Linked DNA regions of Homo sapiens: region 1 is linked to region 2. Evidence: promoter capture Hi-C in 16 types of primary human blood cells and fetal thymus (Javierre and others, 2016). All regions are on one chromosome and are shown on one strand. Each heading gives the region's core, a stretch centred on a gene start or on the middle of the fragment in contact. The rest is flanking DNA. Distances are from core to core; before and after follow the strand shown.

Region 1 (4,754 bases), core at 2,119-4,618, 1.2 Mb after region 2:
GTTTCTCAACTTTTCATAGCTGTATTTTCTGGAAGTGTAAAGTGAAGGATATTATCATTACCTTACAGTGTTATGGTAAGGATTAAATAATATTGACCTTGATGTAGACATGGTATAATGTCTCTGCATTTTAAGAGTTTTATCAAATGTTAGTTTCTCTCTTCCACTCATTCTCCTTAATCAAAAATAAATTAGCATAATTTGAATATGCACTTTAGCCCATAAGGTAACATAATTTGTTATTTTATGAGGAAGAAATAGAGGATAATCTATCCCCTTAAAAGAATTGTCTGAAATGTGTTACAGCAGAAAATACTTTTTACTATGTTTTATCAGATTAGACTCACAGCTCCCGCCCTTTCCCCTCCAAATTTTATAGAAATCAAACAGAATTAACCTGCTGAATTAATTACCTGTGTTTACCACAACAGATATAAAACTGCTGCTTTCACATATGAAAGCACTGAAGGTAGAGACTGTGACTATACCCATGCATAGTTGCCAGCCTCTAAGATGGACCTCATAGATCTTCCTTCTGATGCCCATCCCTTTGCTTAGTTGCCTCCAAAAATATATCAGGGCTGGTCTGTGTGTCCAATAGAATAAAGTAGAAACAAAGAAATGCCAGATTGTGATTCTGGAGACCTTTCTAAAATAACTTACTCTGGGAAAAGCCAACTGCCATTGTATGAGCAGTCATATGGAGAGGTCCGTGTCACAGGGAGCTGAGGCCTCCCACCAACTGCCATGCAAGTGACTTGGATTGGCTCCTTCAGCCCCAGTCAACCTTCTGGATGACTACAGCTTCAGCATATATTTGGCTGCAACCTTCTGAGTGATCTTGAGCCAGAATCACTAGCTACACTACTCAGTTTCCTAATATTTAGAAATTATGTTAGATATTAAATGTTTAATCACTGAATTTTGGAGTAATACTTTATGCAGGCTAGATAAGTAATACTGATTCTGCTACTGCAATGTGGGTATGCTATCATAACAAATATCTAAAAACTTGAAAACTAGGAAGTGGTTACAAGCTGAAATGATATTAAGAAGAGTGTTCATTGAAATGTTGAGCGTGTGTTCTTTTTTTCCTGCTACTTATAGTAAATGAGAAATGAGAGAAGTAAATAAAAGGAAAGGCTAATATATGTGTAAAAAGTTGAGATTTCATAGTTTTAAATTTTTAAGCTTCCACAGGTAGCAAAAGATTTTAAAATTAAGACATGGCCTCTGAACAAAGAGCAAGGAAAACAAGGTCCAAAGATGCAGTAAATACCACGTTTAAAAATTATGTTTATCTTAGATAATTTGAAGATGGTACTTCCACATACACCATTCTGTCAGGTAAAAGTCCTTCCAGACAGACTGGGCTTCTAGGAGTGTTATCTGTAGAGATCCAAGGTAAAGAAGGGCTTATTTCGGAGAAATCTGTGGGTGTGGATTTCACCTAATGGAATGAACTGCAAGAAGATTCACAAGAGATTTAAAAAGTTTTTAAGATAATATATCAATAGAAACAATGCCGGCTTGTATGAAAAGGGACAGAAGGAGTACAAAATGAAAGGCCTTTGGGCCTGCCAAATTTCTCCTAGCAGGAAATAGGCTGGAAGGACTACTTACCTGCATCTCCTATAAAAGGAAGAGTGGCTCAGTGGAAATAAGATCCAGAAGGGAAAGCCAAGGGCTATGACGTCTGGGCAGAAGCAAACTGAGACTTAATCAAAGAACTTGCTACATATTCCCAGTTGGATCTCAGAATTGCTAGAAACCAAGACTACTATGTGCCACTCATTTCTCTCTTCTATTGAAAAGGAATTGTAAATGTATATAGGAGTGTGTGTTTCACATGTGGGAGGTATGCATATCATTACAGCCAGAGGGCACACTGTGGTAATAATCGTGTAAGATACCCCCAACTAATCCCCACCTCCTAGTACTCATGTCCTTGTGTATTCCCTTCCCACATTCTATTATGGAAGGTCTGTGTGTCTGATAGAATAAAACAGAAGAGACAGGGTGAGACTTTGGAATCTATAGGACATAAAAGACATTGAAAATTCTCTCTCTCTCTCTCTCTCTCTCTCTCTCGTTATAAACAAACCTATACAATTGATATTTGAATCACATTCTGTAGCCCATGTCAACCCTCCAGATGATTGCAGCCCCAGCTGACAGCTTGACTGCCACCTTGTGTGAGACCTTGAGTTCAAACCCTTCACAAATCTGCTCCAGGATCCCTGATTCTCATAAACTATTAATATGAATAAAATGCTGATTTAAGCTGATAAGTGTTGGGGGTATTCTACTCACCAAAAATAGATAACTAATATACCACATGTCCAGAATAATGGTATGTGGTGAAACTGATCTGAGCATCACCCTGTCTTATTGTCTCACCTGATAAAAATTGAAGTGGAAGGCCGGGAGTAAGGCTCACACCTGTAATCCCAGCACTTTGGGAGGTAGAGGTGGGTGGATCACTTGAGGTCAGCTGTTCAAGACCAGCCTGACCAACATGGTGAAACCCCGTCTCTACTTCAAATACAAAAATTAGCCGGGTGTGGTGGTGTGCGCTTGTGGTCCCAGCTAGTTTCTGGGCAGGAGAATTGCCTGAACCTGGGAGGCGGGAGGTTGCAGTGAGTCAAGATCGCGCCACTGCACTCCAGCCTGGGTGAGAGCGAGACTCCACCTCAAAAAAAAAAAGAAAAGAAAAGAAAAGAAAATGGTAGAATCCATTATGATCACTAAACAACAATAGCATCTAGACATGGTTCCTGCTACTTAATTTTCCCTGAACTGTTGTCTGCAGAAGGACTGAAAGCACCTTGAACTGGTATGTTGTACAATGACTTATTGAAAACTTACTGTGTTAACTTGGCTTTTACACTCCTTTGTTGCCATTCATACTTAGCACCCATATAATTATTTACATTTCCCCAAAGTGTCATATTTTTTAACATCTTTATATCTAATTTTTCCTTCATCCTATTACCTCCTTGTCTATCTGATAACATTCTTATCCTCCTTCAAGATGTTCTTCACATAATTTCTATAATGCCTTCCATACCACCCTAATGAACATCAACTCCTTCCTTTGCCTGTTAATGTGCCTTGAATATGATTCTTCTTGATAGTTATACTAAAATATTTTTATATTCCCAGTGTCTTATACAGTGACATACACAGAATATGTTATTAAATATTTTATGGGTAAAGGAAATAATTAACAGATGAGACAGCACTGTGAAGACACCTGATGAATATTAAATATATAAGAAAAGCTCTAGAGTAAGGAGATGTCATGTGCAACGAGATAGGGACAATTATTATTACATTGATTCTAAAAGGATCAGTACCTTATAAATTACAAATATTTCATATACCACAAAGACAGACTACTTAATTGTTTTATAGAATTCTCAGATTCAATTCTAAGAAGCTAGTGGGCAGGATCCATGTCCATTATTAAGCACCAGCATGCCACAGGTGTTTAGTAAATGTGTGTTGAGAAGTCATGAAGGGGGAAAAAAGGCTGTGTTTTTTACTTTATAGATTATTAGTGAGAATAGCTGAGTATAACAGTCATTGACTTACTGTATCCCTATTTATATTTCCAAAAATCATATATTATATTTAATGACTTGCATATCTAGTCAAAAAAGAAGCCAAGCAATAGGACTTAGCCAAAGGAAATCTCAGCTTCAGCATACTTTTTAAAATGGCACTGAGAGAGTTTAGGTAGCAAGTAGCAGGACCAGAGGAGAGGGGTTTCAGCTGACTTCTCAACACACATTTACTAAACACCTGTGGCATGCTGGAGCTTAATAATGGACATGGATCCTGCCTACTAGGTTCTTAGAACTGAATCTGAGAAATAAGAAAATGTGGTAAATGACTAATAGAATAAAGAATACAGTGCTGTAAAAGATGTGACAAATACATAGCAAATGAAAAGAGGGGAAAGGGAATTTGAAAGTGTGGTGGGTTATGAAGGGATTGATGTAGAAGGAGACATCTCAAATAGGCTCTAAAGGTTAGATGCATAACCATATATTCAAGCCCTTATCTACTGATTGTAAGAATCAGCATAGCACAGGATTAAAAACACCACATTTAGAGCCAGAAAGAACAGAGCTGCAATCTTGCTTTTCATTATTACTAATTATAGGACCTTGACTATATGACATTACTTTTCTGTGTCTCAATTTTATAATATGTAAAATGAGGATAATAATAACAGTGCCATCTCATTTTATTATAAGAGTTATGTGAAAAACCATAGAAAAATATTACACAACCTGGCAAACAGGCAGCAACAAATGCATTGAAGTTATTATTATGGTTATTATTGTTGTGATTTTAGCTACCTGGAGACCCACAGAGATGAACTGATCCCTTTACTCATTCTTACTGCCGTGAAAATATGATACTTGAAGTGGGGGCAGCATTCATGTCACCATGGGAAACAGCAAAGAGAACAATATAATGTTGGCTCAGCTTTCACTGAATCTTTTAACCATACTGGCAGCATCTTGCTGCCAGACTGCTTGTTATGTGAGAGCTGTAATCCATGTATCTTAAGTCACTTAAGTCATCGTTTAACAGGTTTTCTTTACCTGCATCCCCAAACACTCCTAACTGATACATTGATCATCCAACAAGGCAATTTTAGAGTGAATAAGACATAGCAGGCACTGTAAGACATTATATGATTTTGATAGGTGGAAGTAATTTCATATTTGTTCTAGACG
Region 2 (5,096 bases), core at 2,134-4,633:
TTTCTGGGCTCTCTATTCTGTTCCATTGGTCCATATGTCTGTCTTTATGTGCCAGTACCATGCTATTTTGATGACTACAAATTAGTAGTAGATTTTGAAATCACATAGTGTGTTGCTCCCAGTGTTATTCATAATTACTTAGGTCTTCTGGGTCTTTTGAAGTTGTATATGAATTTTAAGATTTCTTTCTGTGTTTGTGAAAAATGTCATTAGACTTTTGATAGGGATTTAATTGAACCTGTAGATTGATTTTGACACTATGAACATTTTAACAATGTTAATTCTTCCAGTCCATGAACATGGGACATATTTCCATTTATTAATGTCTTCTTCAATTTATTTTACCAATGTTTTATAATTTTCCATGTGCACATCTTCCAACTTTTTGGTTAAATTTATTCCAATTATTATCTTTTTCATAGTGATTCTAAACAGAATTGTTTTCCTGACTTTTTGGGATAGTTTATTGTTAATGTATAGAAATACTACTAACTTTTGAATGGTAATTTTGGATATTACAACTTTACTAAATTTGTTTATTAGTTCTAACAGCTTTTTTAGGGGGAGAGACTTTAGGATTTCTGTATCACACATCTGTAAACAGAGAAAATTTAATTTCTTCCTTTCTACTTTTGATGACTTGTACTTCATTTTATTGCTTAATTACTTAGGGTAAGAGTTCCAGTATGATGTTGAATAGAAGTGGTGAGAGTAGAAATTCTTGTCTTATTCCCAATCTTAGAGGAAAAGCTTTCAACTTTTTGCCATTGAATCTGATGTTAGTTGTGGGCTTGTCACATATGGTCTTTATTGTGTTGAGAATTACATTCTTTCTGTAATTAATTTGTTGAGAGTTTTTATCATAAAATGATGTTGAATTTTGTCAGTTTTTCTTCATCCATTGAGATGATAATATAGTTTTGGTCCTCAATTCTCTTAATGTAGTATTTGCATATATTGAACCATCCTTGTATCTCAGAGATAAATCCCACTTGATCAAAGCAGATTATCCTTTTAATGTGTTGTTGAATTTGGTTTGCTAGGATTTTATTAAGGAATTTTGCATCTATGTTCATCAGGGATATTGGCCTGTAGTCTTCTTTTCTATTAGTTTCCTAGGGTGGCTTTGGTATTAGGGTAATGTTGTCCTCATAAAATGAGTTTGGAAATATTCCCTCCTCTTCATTTTGTTTTGGAAGAGTTTGAGAAGGATTGGCATTAGTTCTTTAAATGTTTGGTAGAGTTTAGTAGTAATCCGTTCCTGGGATTTTCTTTGATGGAAAACTTTTATTATTTGTTCATTCTCTTTGTTCATTATTGGTTTGGTCATATATTCTATTTCTTCATAATTCAGTCTTGTTAGATTGTATGTGGCCAGGAATTTATCTGTTTCTTTTGGGTTATTCAATTTGTAAGTCTATAATTGTTCATAGTAGTCTTTTGTGATTCTTCATATTTCTGTGGTATGAGTTGTAATGTCTCTTCTTTCATTTCTCATTTTATTTATAAGTCTTCTCTCTTTTTTATTTGATTTTTAATGTATTTTCAATATCTGTGTTAAATTTCTCATTTTGGTTTTTTACTATGTTCCTGATTTTTTAAAAATGATTTCTCTGTATTTTCCTTTACTTCATGAAGCTTTAAAAGCAATTATGTTGAATTATTTTTCAGCCTGTTTACATACCTCCATTTCTTTGGGGTCAGCAACTTGGAAATTATTGTGTTCTTTTGGTGGTATGATTTCTTGGTGTTTCATTGTTTCTTGTTACCCTCTTATTGATGTCTGCACATTTGGTGGAGTAGTCATCTCTTGCAAATTTCATTGGCTAATTTCAGTGTGGAAAGATTTTCTCTTATGGGGCATGATGGTGCTTTGCAATCCTTGTGGCCCAGACTGACACAAGCATATAATGGGATGGACTGAGTGGGTGGGATGGATTGGTTTTGGCACCAGTGGGATGTGGCTTTATAGTCTTTGTGTGGCCCTGTTAGCTGACGTCAATGTTGACCCAGATTTGAGGGATCCTCAGTGGCCAAATTCTTGGATGTTTGCAGTGACAGCAAGGGTTTTCAGGCTCGTTGCTGGTAGTGGCTGCTAAGGTCTTCCTTATTTAATTTTCTCCCACTGGGGAAGTTGTGGCTTAGGGAACCATTTGACATGGTTCTGGTATGTGTGCTTCCTCTTGATGTTGGTGGCACAGGTGTATTTTGGGTGGCACCTATTGTGCAGCCATGTAACTGAGGCTTGGGTCATGGGCACACCTGAAGGAACTATGGTTCTGGGATCTGGAATGATAATGACACTGGTGCTTAGGGTGAAGACACTCCTGCCACCACATAGGTAACAGTGCTAGAGGTGTGAATGCTTTGAAGCAGCCAGGGAGCCAAGAATGGGAGCATAGATATATGTAGAGTTACAATGGCTCTGGAGTTGGGGTAGGGACTAACTTTCTGTGGAGGGTGAACTGGTGCCCAAAGTGTGGGCATGCCCAGAGAGACCTTGACTCCAGGGCCCAGAGCTTGCTCTAGTGATGGCCCAGTGTCTGATACATGGGTGGGTGCAGTGCAGTCCCAGACCCTGGGTCTGAGTGTGAGCTCTCAAGGGGCAGCTGCAGTTTGGGGTTTGCATGGTGTTGGGGAGGTGGCAGCTCCTTTTCCAAAGTAGCTCAATAGCATCTGCTTCTTGCAGGTGGAGGCAGTACAGTTGTGTCTCCCTCTCTAGGGTTTCCTGGTGGGAATGGCTCTTGGTTATCTCAGTGGCATAAATGCTAGCGTTCTCTGCAAAGCAGGGATCTTGATGACTACCACCACATGGCTGATACTAATTGCCTCAACCTTTCCTGTTTGTTCCTAACCATCTCCTGGCATCTCAAGTATGCAGATATCACTAGAAATCCTTCGTGTGCGGCTATTCTCCATGTTTTTGCTCCTCTGTATTGCTGCAGATTCTTTAATGGGCCCTTGAACCCTCGCAGACCTATTTTGGTTTGTGGATAGCTGTCTCTCTCTCGCTCTAGAGATATATATATAAGATATACATATTTATATATTATATATTTAAGATATATATATTTATATATTATAGATTTATATATATTATTATATATAATATAAATTATATATTATATATATAATATATATTATAATATATATTATATATTATATATATATAATATATATTATTATATATAATATATAATTTATATATATATATAATAATATATTATATATATTATATATGTATTTTTTGTGATGGGGATGAAGGCTAGTATCTTTCTTACTCCATAATCTTGGTGGTATCTCAGAAAACTTTCTTATGTCTCATAATTTATGTCTTTGCAGAGCCAGCCAGCCACTTTGTCGGTCATCAGGGCAGATAATCCATGGGTGCCAAGAACAATGTGACTGAGTTTGTTTTATTTGGCCTTTTTGAGAGCAGAGAGATGCAGCATACATGCTTTGTGGTATTCTTCCTCTTTCATGTGCTCACTGTCCTGGGGAACCTTCTGGTCATCATCACCATCAATGCTAGAAAGACCCTGAAGTCTCCCATGTATTTCTTCCTGAGCCAGTTGTCTTTTGCTGACATATGTTATCCATCCACTACCATACCCAAGATGATTGCTGACACTTTTGTGGAGCATAAGATCATCTCCTTCAATGGCTGCATGACCCAGCTCTTTTCTGCCCACTTCTTTGGTGGCACTGAGATCTTCCTCCTTACAGCCATGGCCTATGACCGCTATGTGGCCATCTGTAGGCCCCTGCACTACACAGCCATCATGGATTGCCGGAAGTGTGGCCTGCTAGCGGGGGCCTCCTGGTTAGCTGGCTTCCTGCATTCCATCCTGCAGACCCTCCTCACGGTTCAGCTGCCTTTTTGTGGGCCCAATGAGATAGACAACTTCTTCTGTGATGTTCATCCCCTGCTCAAGTTGGCCTGTGCAGACACCTACATGGTAGGTCTCATCGTGGTGGCCAACAGCGGTATGATTTCTTTAGCATCCTTTTTTATCCTTATCATTTCCTATGTTATCATCTTACTGAACCTAAGAAGCCAGTCATCTGAGGACCGGCGTAAGGCTGTCTCCACATGTGGCTCACACGTAATCACTGTCCTTTTGGTTCTCATGCCCCCCATGTTCATGTACATTCGTCCCTCCACCACCCTGGCTGCTGACAAACTTATCATCCTCTTTAACATTGTGATGCCACCTTTGCTGAACCCTTTGATCTATACACTAAGGAACAACGATGTGAAAAATGCCATGAGGAAGCTGTTTAGGGTCAAGAGGAGCTTAGGGGAGAAGTGACATTCCAGAGAATCTCAATCCAGCTAGGAAATTGGGAGACTTTCCATCTTGTAGCATCTAACACAGCCTTTTTATTTCCAGTCTGATGTTTGCAATGGCAATTATCCTCCTAGCTCTTGTTGTTATAATAATTCCACATATTCTTTCAATCCTTTATTCATTAAATATTTATTGGATGTTTACAGTGAGTGAGAATACAAATAAAAGTAAGATATAATCTTTCCCTCAAGGAGAGTACAGTCCAGGATGCTTTTAGTGCGATATTTAAGAGCTCATTCAGGAAACGTGTGAGGGCCTGTGAATGAGGGAGTGTCTTGGAAGTCCAGATATCTCATTGATAAATGAATAAAATCACTACATAATTCCTTTGTGTTGGCTAACACAGTGCTCAATGGAATTCATTCTTTTCTTTTAAGAGTAAAGAGCCACTTTACTCTTACCCTTTCATGCTCTCAGCAGGCAGATAAATAAATAAATAAGTAAATAAATAATGTGGAGAGGTCAAGGGATTTACTAAAAGTTACACTTTAACTCCAGAGCAGGGTGAGGACTAGAACACAGGTCCCTAAGTCAGCTTTCAGAGCTTTTCCTCAGGACCTCTTGATAAAGTGTGACTAAATGGACACCAAGCAGGAATGACCAAGAACTTTTGAAAGACCAGGAATGATGGTGATGATGACTTGGGATGATGAAGAGAACAACCAGGAAGAACAAGTTGTCAGCACTTCTTTCAGTGGTGCTGATTCCTCTCTCCAGCAGAACAGCTGACTGCTGCCCTCTTTA

Evidence for each region. Contacts are between HindIII fragments. The CHiCAGO score rates a contact against its expected background, and 5 or more counts as called.
Region 1: a fragment that was not itself captured here is called in contact with the fragment with the promoter of OR4S1 in region 2 in 1 of 17 cell types (M2 macrophages); the score reaches 5.3 in M2 macrophages.

The regions. Positions count from the first base shown.
Region 1 is chr11:49,518,148-49,522,901 of GRCh38, forward strand. No RefSeq gene overlaps it. Among named protein-coding and RNA genes, the nearest start is that of FOLH1, 310 kb to the left of the region's middle. The HindIII fragment of the contact is 4,359 bases long and covers 1,190-4,754 here.
Region 2 is chr11:48,302,840-48,307,935 of GRCh38, forward strand. It overlaps OR4S1 (olfactory receptor family 4 subfamily S member 1), which reads left to right and starts at 3,384. Exons shown (of 1, transcript NM_001004725.1): 1 at 3,384-4,313. The coding sequence starts at 3,384. The coding sequence ends at 4,313. The HindIII fragment of the contact is 12,544 bases long and covers 1,637-5,096 here.